Linked DNA regions of Homo sapiens: regions 2 and 3 are each linked to region 1. Evidence: promoter capture Hi-C in 16 types of primary human blood cells and fetal thymus (Javierre and others, 2016). All regions are on one chromosome and are shown on one strand. Each heading gives the region's core, a stretch centred on a gene start or on the middle of the fragment in contact. The rest is flanking DNA. Distances are from core to core; before and after follow the strand shown.

The links. The method cuts DNA at HindIII sites, captures the fragments that hold promoters and counts their contacts. A CHiCAGO score of 5 or more calls a contact.
Region 2: a fragment that was not itself captured here is called in contact with the fragment with the promoter of EML4 in region 1 in 4 of 17 cell types (naive CD8 T cells, naive CD4 T cells, non-activated CD4 T cells and 1 more); the score reaches 8.9 in naive CD8 T cells.
Region 3: a fragment that was not itself captured here is called in contact with the fragment with the promoter of EML4 in region 1 in 1 of 17 cell types (fetal thymus); the score reaches 5.7 in fetal thymus.

The regions. Positions count from the first base shown.
Region 1 is chr2:42,167,742-42,171,642 of GRCh38, reverse strand. EML4 (EMAP like 4) reads right to left here and starts at 2,290. Exons shown (of 23, transcript NM_019063.5): 1 at 2,007-2,290. The coding sequence starts at 2,031. EML4-AS1 (EML4 antisense RNA 1) reads left to right here and starts at 1,412. Exons shown (of 4, transcript NR_110584.1): 1 at 1,412-1,673. RefSeq lists silencers at 2,279-2,338, 2,439-2,488 and enhancers at 1,904-2,556, 2,569-2,708. The HindIII fragment of the contact is 2,496 bases long and covers 250-2,745 here.
Region 2 is chr2:42,810,522-42,814,422 of GRCh38, reverse strand. TRI-TAT2-1 (tRNA-Ile (anticodon TAT) 2-1) reads right to left here and starts at 3,887; the gene lies at 3,795-3,887. RefSeq lists enhancers at 2,944-3,023, 3,054-3,153 and silencers at 3,234-3,523, 3,814-3,901. The HindIII fragment of the contact is 2,540 bases long and covers 432-2,971 here.
Region 3 is chr2:42,695,105-42,699,005 of GRCh38, reverse strand. It overlaps MTA3 (metastasis associated 1 family member 3), which reads right to left. Exons shown (of 17, transcript NM_001330442.2): 10 at 3,167-3,241; 11 at 1,172-1,230. Among named protein-coding and RNA genes, the nearest start is that of OXER1, 67 kb to the left of the region's middle. The HindIII fragment of the contact is 1,315 bases long and covers 1,354-2,668 here.

The sequences.
Region 1 (3,901 bases), core at 1,041-3,540:
ACCACCCAAAGCATGGCATCAAATGAATTTTTTAAATCCAACATTAGGGTCAACAATGACGCTCTTTATGAAAAGTGTGAGCCCCAACTGCAATTCATCTTCATCTCTCGGTCTTTTGTATCACTTGCCTCATAAACTGGTTAAGAAAGAAGAAAGCTATTACAAAGCATAATCAATGTTTGAAAATAAACATTAAGTGCCCCAACTGGTGAGAAAGACTCCTCCTAAACACTTACAGAAGATGAAGCTTTAACAAGCCCTCCAGAAATCTTTAGAGCCAACACGAAAGAAGTTAAAGTGATCTCACCACTCCTACAGGATGAGGACCCAATACAGTATAAAGATAGCACAGCTCTCCACAACATCCCCTAAGAAGACACTCAATTTTTACTTTAGTATAAGATCAGCCCTTCAGCGGACATATAGGACAAGTTTTTCGGTCCAACACTTACTGTGAATAAACCAACGCATGGAGCTAAAAAAGAACCAGGGAAAAATGGATGTCTCTCTAAAAAGAGCCCAACCTAAGTAAGGAATTACAAGACATCAAAGGTTAGATAATGGACAACAGGTGCCTTTGAGGAGGAAAGAGTAACACAACACTCAGTTGCCTCCTATTTTAGGATTTCCACTCTGAAAGCAATATAACGACAATTTTTTCTGCCCAAGAAAAAGGGAAGGCCAAAATTATAGGTTTTACTATTTAATATCTATAATAGGCCCATTGCTCTTTGACTTACTTTTTTACTTTAGATTTTAAAAATCCATCTCATCTCGATATTATCTGGATATAGTACGGCCTATGGCCAGACTGCTCACTGATCAGTGAACATTAACCAAGTAGAGACTTATTATCAAGAAATGTAAAAGAAAGGCGTCTGAATACAAGCTACCTGCACATAAAAAACTCAAAATACAGTTCCAGCAGTAGGTATCACACAACTGCGTTATCAGCCAAAGCTGAAACTGTTTCTCTCACCATTCTAACAGTTGAACTTAATCTTTTACTAGATTTCAATGGCCTCGAAGAATAGTAATTCCAGATTCAGCTTCTAGGGCAGCGAATACTAGCCTGGAGTTTTGATTTTCCTAGCCAGAAGATTACCTTCATCTGGTGAAAGGAACACTGAAAAGGCACTTCAGCCTATTTAATAACCTCTTCCCTTTCTCCATTCCACAAAGACAACATCTTCCAAAAATGGAGAATCCTTTCCTTCCCTGATAGAGGCCCCCTTTCCTATTGATTCATTGGGCAGAATCACTTCTCCCCAGCATGTATGCAGAACCAGAAAACACTTCTGCTTTCACTCTTAAAGAGGGTCCCCCAACACAGATGCACCTCTTCCTTTCCTGCATTAAGCAAATGATGCTCCGATGCTTCTAGGTCTCTCCACCACTGCAAAATGCTCAGAGAAGTGGAGGGATTGAAAAGGAAGTTGCCTACTACTCTGAAGGATACTGGAAAGTCGCCTTCAAATCTAAAGTGAAGACTTGGGGGCGGGGGATGCCCCCTTCCTGAAGAGGGAATGAGGGTCCCTCCCCTAAAAAGGAGCCTCTGTTCGGGTGAAGGCGATCCCCACCCTGAAAGAGAGGCGTGTATGTGGAAAGGTGGTGGAAGGTTGTACCCTGAAGAGGAGCCTGGATTTGAAGAAATGTCCCAACTCTGAAGGGGGGTAAGTGGAGGGAGCCGTGAGTGTACGGGGAGGGGTGTGCCAGCTATCGGGGGGCCTGAGAAGGAAGGGGTTCCCACTTTGGGGGAACGAGGGCCCCGCACTGAAAGGGGCTCCGGGAGGAAAGGAGGGTCTGACACAGAGGAGAGTTGGACATGGGGGAGGGGCCCTCAGTCCACCGGAGTCCGCGGAGGGGCGGCAGCCTCGAAGGGAACATGTGCAGTGGAGCCGCTGCCACCCCGAGGGGCAGGCGGGAGGGCAGGGCCTGGGCTGTGTGCGGAAGGAAAAAAGTTCCTACCCTTCGCAGAAGACGCAGGACTCCCCAGCCGTACTCACCGAGACTGCCGGCGAAACCGTCCATCTTGCGGGGAAAGCGCCGGGCTCCGGGCTTAGAGGGGCGGGCACTTCATTCAGCGGACCGACAGAGTGGCCGACGCTGAGCCTGACCCGCTCGTTCTCTAGGTCGCCCGGCTCGGCTACCGGCTCCCGCCTCCGTCGTCCGTCCGTTCGCCCTGGGGTAGTAAGCCGCGGCCGCCCGAACCACTTCCCCGTCACGTTGAGAGCCGCGCCGCTCAGCCGCCTGCCCGGCCTCCCTCCCAGGCAGCAGCCGCGAGCGCCGCGCCGCGCCGCGCCCCGCCCCGCCCCCGCGCCCGCGCGCAGCAGTAGCCCCGCCCCGCGCACGCCGTCACACTTCCGACTCCGCCTCCCACGTGACGCCACGGAGGCGGGGTCTTGCCAGCCCCGCCCTCTCACCTTGCCTCGGCCTCGGCGTTTGTCCGCCTCGCGCCAGGCTGGTGGTTGCGCCTGCGCGGTAGGCCTGCTGAAGGCTGGGGACCACGGTTTGGAAGCTGGTTCCAAACAGGTGGGGATAAGGCATAGACTCTGGCCTGCGATACTCTGATGCATGAAGGATCCTCTCCCTATGTGGCCCCTGGGAAGCCCGCAGAGCCAAGACTGGACCCCCGTGACGGGAGATGACCACCACGTGGGTCCTACAAGGACACTAAAGAAGCAACCAAGAGGGAGAGGTTCTCCCTCTCCCCCAATAGGGTGGGGGACAAATAGGGGCGAAGCTTCTTGACTAGCTCGATACCACCACTGCCACAGCCGCAGGGCCCGGGACAGATCAGAAGCAAGGAATTTTAGTGCTGGACATGACCCAAAAGTTCATCTTGTCTAACCCTTCTTATGAAGAAAAACACAGAGCCTTAGAGAGGACAACCTGCCCAAGGTCATCGAACCTAGTAGAAGCAAAAACTCAGCCTTCCTTACTCTCCCTAGCGTTCTGTCGTCTAGGGGTGCAAAACGACCATATATGGCAGGCTATAGGATGGCCTGCTAGGGAACCATAATAAGGGTTATTTCAAATGAAGTAACACTGAGTTCTAGGCCCAACTCCGTATGACTCAAGAGTGTCAAATCACCTAATTTATTTAGGCGTCACTTTATTCATTTGCAAATTGGTTGTCTGGACATGTAACCAAAACATGTAAATATACATAGCGTTCATATTCTTCCTCCCTTCCCCAACACGATTTCCCATACTTCTAAAGACTTTCTCATGGTTTGTCAAGTCCCTCCTGGGGCTCAGTTGTGCAGATTAGAGTAAGAGAGAGAAGAGCTGTAAGGTACTGAAGAACTGAATTGATCTATACATAATAAATTGATAAATACATAATAAAAAGCTGAGTTAGGGGAAAACAGAGTCCTACTACACAGAGTTGCAGGAGAGAGGGACAAACAAGAAGGGAGACAAGAAATATGTAATGATGAGAGAGACTTAGAGGAATTAAATGATTGAAAGGATTGTTAAACCTTCTTGGGGTATACGTCTCCCTTTGTTGCCTCTTTAAAAATCTTCCCTAAAAATGTAAATTACTTTGCATTTCTTATTTGGATATAAGACCTGTTTCTGAATACCATACTATATGGAGACTGGCCATAACGCAGCCAAGATAAATTCAGGTTACAGACTAAACGGTGTCTAAAATTTCCTTCTCTTCAAACTTAAATGATTTACCCAATGTTCCTTCTGCTATGGGCATTTTCATATGCATAAGTTTCTATTAAGCCTAAGTAAATGTTTGAGAAGTTCTCAATTCTGACAGCTGTTCCTTTGTGTCTTCAGGCCACACTCTCTGCCTTAGGTCGATTAAAAGAATAAGAACTTGGCATATTGGTATACATATGTTTTATGGTCCAGACCTGGAAGTGTGTACCTCCCTTTTGTC
Region 2 (3,901 bases), core at 452-2,951, 640 kb before region 1:
TGGTTTGTGATCCCTGACACCACAGCATCTAATGCATTATATAGTAATGCATTAATAATCAGTTGACATTCTTAGCAGTTGGGTCACACTGCTGGCACAACCGAGGTTGCACACATCTGAAATCCCCAGATCTTTTACATGCAAACAGCTGTCAAGCCAGGCATCCTCACACATGGAACTTTGAACTGAACATAGACTTACAATTATCTCTATGAAAATTGCATCTTATCATTTGTCAGAAACATTTGCCTCCAGATTGGCTCCACTCTTCTTCTAAATTCTACTGAATCTGCACTCCTTTCAGGCTGTGTCACCCCTAGCTCTGATGAGCCCTTCTTCATCCAAGCATTCTACAAAGCCAAGGTCAGCCTGGGTTACATCAGGTTTCTCTCCTGCTGGGGCCTGGGGTTGTTCAGTTGTCACTTCAAGCTTCCTTCGCAGTTTGGTCACTTCATACTTACCCACTTCCTTCTTGAAGCCACTACACAGTATAGTCAGGCCTAAGCCAGTGGTCTGATGCTAATAAAAATGTCATAATACTTTGTGGTTTTTAAAGCATTTTCCCATATTCTGACTTGATTTTTTTTTTTTTAATTGAGACAGAGTCACTCAGGCTGGAGTGCAGTGGTGCAATCTCAGCTCACTGCTGCCTCGACCTCTTGGGCTCAGGTGAGCCTCCCACCTCAGCCTCCCAAGTAGCTGAGACTACAGGCGTGCCTCATCACACTGGGTTAATTTTTGTATTTTTTGTAGAGACAGGGTTTCACCATGTTGCCCAGGCTGGTCTGGAACTCCTGGGCTCAAACAATCCTTCTGCCTCAGCCTCCCAAAGTGTTGGAATTACGGTGTGAGCCACCATGCCCTGCCTCACTTGATTTTTATCACCCACCACAACCTTAAAAAATTCTATCAACATCACTTTAAGACACTGGGCCACAAATAGGCTCAGAGTATGTTTGTTGTTTATGGCCTAATCAATAATTTCGTAGCTGAAGATTTCTAAATTAAGGAAAGAAGAACTAGTTTAGCTTCCTTCCAACCCTACCATCTTATCAGGAAAACAGTTCCTAAAGCCACTGCCATTCCAGCAGTAACCAGTAGGGACAGAAACAATATTGAAGAATGTTCTAACCATAAGAGTTGTTGGAAAATGGAATAAGTTGCCTTGAGAGGAACTGAAATTCTGATGCTAGCAGTTTTCAAATAGGAGCTAGGGTTTTGTGGAAAGGATTTCTCTGTGGATAGGAGGTTGACAGAATGATCTCTCATTCATTTATTGTTGTCTGTTTGGGATCTTGCTTTGAGCTCAGCTCTCAGAAGTACCTAAGAGACTCCTGGTGGTCAGTGAGTTACCTGTGAAGATTAGAAACCTGCACTTTCTGAGTCTGATCACTTTTCTGTTTGTGCATTTTAAAATTAATCACCTCTTACAAAGCAGTTTTTGGCAAATTTCCTTTTGAAAATGCCAACCCTTTCTCCATTATTCAAAAATGGAAAGAATCCATACAATGGACTGTCATACAGTCATAAAAAGAAATGAAGCACTGATATATGGTACAATATGGATGAATATTGAAAACATTATAAAGTGAAAAAGCCAATTACAAAAGACCACATGCTGTATAATTCCATTCGTAGGAAAGTCCAGACTAGGGAAATCTACAGAGACAAAAAGTGGATTTGTGGTTGCTTAGGGCTGGTGGGGGAACAGGATGGGAAGATGAGAGGGTGAGAACTAGTCTTGAGGTGATGAAAATGTTTGAAAATTTACTGTGGTGATGATTGTACTTATCTGTGAATATACTAAAATCCATTGTACACTGTAAAATGGGCGAGTTGTATGGTATAGGAATTATATCCCATTAAAGCTGTTGGGTTTTTTGTTTTTTTTTTTATAGAAAGTAAGCATACTTTTTTTTTTTTTTTTTTTTTTTTTTTGAGACGGAGTCTCGCTGTGTCGCCCAGGCTGGAGTGCAGTGGCGCGATCTCGGCTCACTGCAATTTCCGCCTCCCAGGTTCAAGCAATTCTCCTGCCTCAGCCTCCCGAGTAGCTGGGATTACAGGCGCACGCCACCACAGCCGGCTAATTTTTTGTATTTTTAGTAGAGGCGGGGTTTCACAGTGCTAGCCAGGATGGTCTCCTGACCTCGTGATCCGCCCGCCTTGGCCTCCCAAAGTGCTGGGATTACAGGCGTGAGCCACCACGCTCAGCCGCAAGTTTTTTTTGTTTTGTTTTGTTTTGTTTTGTTTTTTTAGACAGGTCTGGCCCAGGCTGGAGCAGTGGTGCCATCTCAGCTCACTACAACCTCGGCCTCTCGAATCCAAGAGATCCTCTCACCTCAGCCTCCCGAGTAGCTGGGATTACAGGTATGCGCCACCACACCCGGCTAATTTTTGTATTTTTAGTAGATACGGGGTTTCGCCCTGATGGCCAGGCTGGTCTTAAACTCCTGGGTGATTAAAAAAAAAAAAAAATCCGCCGACCTTAGCCTCCCAAGCCGGGATTACAGGCGTGAGCCACCGCGCCTATTTTTTTATTATTATTATTATTCTTTTTTAATGGATAGAGATTTTATTTGTTTCTAAGCCTGGGCTGCATTTCTACAGGGGACCTATCCCATGCCTCTGAGGATGTCTGTGAGCCAGAGGCGACCTCCCCGGGGCTGGCGAGGAACCCGGCACCAGGACGAGGGGAAGTGGGCGGCCCTTCCCACATTCCAGTTGGCATAGGGTTCCTGTTCTGCATCGAGGGGCTGGATGGGTGAGAGCAACCGAAGCCTGGGCTAGCGCAGGAGATAGACAAGAGCTCCGCCCTCCATCCATTTCTCTGAACGTTCTAGGTCTTGATTTTCACCACTCGCGGGGTAATATTTCCACCCAAAATCTAGCAACGATCCCGTCCATGAAAACAGCTGAAAATCTCCCCTTTGAAAGAACACGTCCAGGAGGCTTTCCATCCCTTAACTAAGCTTGTGCCCGCTTTGCCTACCCCCCCTGGCGATGTGGGGCAGGGCGCATCCGCCGGCGACCACTTGGCCTGATTTCCCGGCCCCCGGGAGGACTTCTGAACCAGGATTTGTGACGTGCCGCTAGGAGAAGGGGCACATGATGGGGAGGGGAACTCTCCGAGCACATTCCCCAAACTGCAAATCTGCCCAGGGACGGCTGGGCGCCTGGGTTGAGGAGAAGGGCCCGCAGTCTTATTGGTCTCTGCAGACAGAAGCGAGGGGGAAGAACTCATCACGAGTTACAAGGGCGGAAAACAGCCGCCCCAGGTCTCCCCACAGCTCCCCGGACGCCCCGCGCTAGGCCTCGGGCCCCAACGCCTGGGAATGGTCGGCGGTGCTTGGGCCCCGCCCGGGGGCGAGGGGCAGCGGCCCGGCCCCAGGCCTCATCTCCGCACCGGGAGCTCGGGCTCACACTGTAGAATGAAGTGCCCTGTAGAATATTCGATCCCCACGGCCAGCTAGGGACCCCGCCACAGTGGAGCGCCTCGCCACCTCCATCCGCCCTCCTGTGGTCCGGGACTAGGTGCAGTTACAGGACCCGCCTAAGAAGAGCACTAGAAGGACGCAGTGGGTGGATGTCCGAGTTCGAGCGGCTGGATGTCGCGCGGTGGCAACAAGTAGCTCGGAAAAGGGGTATTGAGAGTCCACTGCGAGCTGCTTCCTGCTTGCGGCCAATGGGGACGTGCGGCAGAGCAGTTAGAAACAAGAAGGGAGAAGACTAAAGAGAGACTCCTTACTTCTGGCAACGAGATACACAAAAGGGGTTGCGAACATCCAAAAGGGTCTTGCTCCAGGTGAGGCTCGAACTCACAACCTCGGCATTGCTCTGCATGTACTGCTGTATAAGTACCGCGCGCTAACCGATTGCGCCACTGGAGCTCTGCTGAATGGGC
Region 3 (3,901 bases), core at 762-3,261, 530 kb before region 1:
GGTATGCTTGCTTTTGAAAATCTAAGACACATGAGTTGCAACAGTATTTTATTTGAGAAGTGGCTCTTTTATAAATTCATCATATAAAACATATAATTTAGAAGGAATTAGAAACCACTCTGCAGATGGGCTATTACAGTTCTTAATAAAAATTACAGACTCTGTAAAAATTACATGTTCTTAAAATTAAACCAGAGTTATCTGTCTTGTGGTAAAAGATCAATATGAAAGATCAGAACTCATTGTCTATGAGGCCTCCTCTATGTATATAAAAACATGTATTATACAAAATATCAAAATTCCAGAAACAAAAGGCTAGTTATTAAACAACTGTAAATAGGTTGAAGAGGGAGAAAAGGCTTAGAGCAGCACACAGAACTCTGCAATAAATTTCATTTTAATCCTAAAAGAAACTAGGATAGAACAATATACACGTGGTGCTTAATAAACCAATTCTTCCTGAACAAATGAATAAGCAAACTCTGAAAATCTCAACAAAAGGATATAGTACCTTATATTTCTTTTAAATTTTTTGCAGAAACGAGGTTCCCCAAAGTGCTGGGATTATAGGCGTGAACTACCATGCTCAGCCTCATTTAAAACAAAGCAAATGGAAAAAAAAAAAAAATTGGCATTCATTTTGAGATGACAATGATTTCTGAATTCAAAGGATAATAATGATAGAACACTAGACAAACAAAATAATCAAAACCTCTCCATTATTTATCACACATTTACCAAATATGGTTCTAATTGCCATTGGAACCAAGAAAACAATGTAAAATCCTCAACCAAATAAACAACAAACCTCCAAAGAGCAGTATGCATTACCCAAACAAAATCTATAGTTTGAAAAGCTGCTAGCTTTCTGAAACACATTTGCTTCAAATAATACAGCATTTCATAGGTTTTCTGACGCTTTCCCTGCAGCTTTGATTTAATAAAAGTATAGTACATAGTACATTTCTTCCTCTAGTCTTCAGGTTAGTCTATTTGAGGTTTCTCTCACTGGCTCCTTTTTATTGTAGTGGTATAATAGTAAGTCTCATGCTTTGTAGAAGAAGAAAGATACACAAAAGTTCAAATTTTGCTGAAACTGAACAAAATGACATATTCTGCAATGATAAAATTAAGACCAAAACAAATATTTTAAAAGATTTCAATTACTTACTAGGTTGGGATATATACTTGTTTCAGTTTACTCTCAGCTTCTGCTGCTTTTAGACGTTTCTAATTCAAAAGATGAATAAAACATTTTACATGCAATGCCTAATTATTACTACTGTTCATTGTCTTAAAAATTCACAAGAAAATACGTATTAAAGTGTAATTCAAAAATTACCATCTTAAGCTTTTCTTTCATATGCATATTCTTAAACTGCAATAATGTCTAAGAAAAGTCACTAGATTCTGTGGTACACAACTTTAAGTATTAATACAATTTTAGGCATAGGTTTAAAAAAATAAAGCAATGAGCAACTCCATTTTCCATTCCTCTATGACTGAATAAACAGGACCTTTAAAAAGTAACCATTTTTACTTTCCAAATTTAGTTTCTACTTTATTACTTATTTGCCTCTCTAGAAGAAAACACACACACTCTCACTCTCTCTCTCTCTCTCTGCTTTTAGAAAAATATTCAGAGATTATTTATTTCCAAAATCCAGGCAAGAGGAGTGACTGTGGCTATTCTAAGTAGAACTAAATAAGCATTTATTCTCAAATGTTGGGAGATATGCATTAAACTTTAAACCTCAGCTGAATTCACATAATATTCTACTGGAACCAATTAGGAGCCATATGTAGGGAAAGGAAGGGGAAGGAGATTATATAATCAAATCCAGACACTGACCAACATGATAATGCAGGCAAATAGAGAAGTAAAATAACATATGGTTGATGTCCAAAAATAAGACAAACCAGAATATAAGGCTATCTTCTATTTTCCCAATGAGGAGAAAACAGAAATACTTAGGGGGACAACTTGAAACTTTTAGAACAGGGTTGAAGTTTTTGGAAAGAATATTATCTACTTTTCAACCATCCTTGATACCATCATCTCCATCTTTAGAGACTCTTTTTTAATAAAATAGGTTCCCAGACTACATGGTCTTGATCTATACCTAAGTTGTTTATAATAAGCACTTTTTGAATTATATTAATATTGACACTGGAAATTTTTCAACAAGCCATGAGTATCTATTCACTATTTGTGACCTCAGCAATTCACCATGGTACTTTTTGTTTTCAATTTTTATTTATTTTTAGAGACAGGGTCTTGTTATGTTGCCCAGGCTGGACATGAACTCCTGGGCTGAGCAATCCTCCTGCCTCGGCCTCCCAAAATGCTGGGAATATAGGTGCACACCACCATACCCAGCTCACTATGATACTTTAAAAAGTGATTCATAAAATTTTTTTATAGCATCTAATACTTGCCACTGTATAACCTACATATATAGGAAAAATAATGTCTGTGTTAAATATATTTGCCTTTTTATCAGTTCTAATATGTGCCTATACAAACATAACACAAGTATTGACCGATGTCATTTCAGGAAAATGTGCCTTTCCCCAGAGGTAATATTATTCAAAAAATAAGTAATTGAGAGTTACCTGAATTTAGGATATTTGAGAAGGACTCAAAAATTACATTTAAGAAAAAGCTTATGTACAGTACAAAAACACCATACTAGTAAGACTACTACATTTAAGGTCAAGGATTTCGGGGGTATAGCCACACAAATGTCATGTAAAGAGGTTTCAGAAGATCTTTAAAAACATATCAAATTATATGGCTGATGACATTGGTCTAAATACTCAATTCTTCATAAAAATAACTTGTTCAAGAGGTTTGTGTTAGCATCACATCTTTGATCATTGCCATGAACTACAAAGAGATGAAGGATCAGTCAAATGCAAGGAAAATAATGCCTCTCTAGTGGTATCTCTCCAAAATATTTATCATAATTCATGCGAAGTCAAGGAAATATTAAGATTAAAATCTTAAATAATATCCTAAAGATATGAAATCATGTAGTTTAAAGTAGTCTGGAAAAAGTAAGGTAAACAAATTTAAAAGTAGTACATCGCCAAAAAATATTAAAATATAAACAGAAAGTTCACTTAAATGCAACCATATTGGTAGCAATATGAAAAAAATTACCTGTTGCACATATCTGTCAGTAGTTTTCCACATGTAATAATATTCAATGATGCTAGTCAATGATTTCCAAGGAAGCTGAAAAAAAAAAAAATCAACCTATCATCTATGTTAACATATAATAAAATGAGATGAAAATAAGCTACTATAGAAAGTACTTTCCTTAAAAACCACCACTTTCTTTTTTTTTTTTTTTTTTTTTTTTTTTGAGATAGACTGTCACTTTGTTGCCCAGGCTGAAGTGCAGTGGCGCGATGTCAGCTCACAGCAACCTCCGCTTCCTGGGTTCAGGCAATTCTTCTGCCTAGCCTCCCAAGCAGCTGGGATTAGAAGCACATGCCACCATGCCCAGCTAATTTTTTGTATTTTTAGTAGAGACAAGGTTTCACCATGTTGGTTAGGCTGGTCTCGAACTCCTAACCTCAGGTGATCTGCCCGCCTCGGCCTCCCAAAGTGCTGAGATTACAGGTGCGAGCCGTCACACCTGGCCCTTAAAAACCACTTCTTTATTAAAATAATGAAGCAAATATCCACATGGAAGATTCATTCTAGAATATTTGAGAAATTTAAAATTAATCCTTAGCAAACGGTACCCCAAACAAGTCATATTCAGTATGGAATGTGAATACAACACATTCCATTTCTCATTCCGTTTATACATTTTACTAAAAATTATAAACATCATAACTGATAACATTTCTTTCTCTTTTTATTTAAGAGACAGGGTCACCCAGGCTG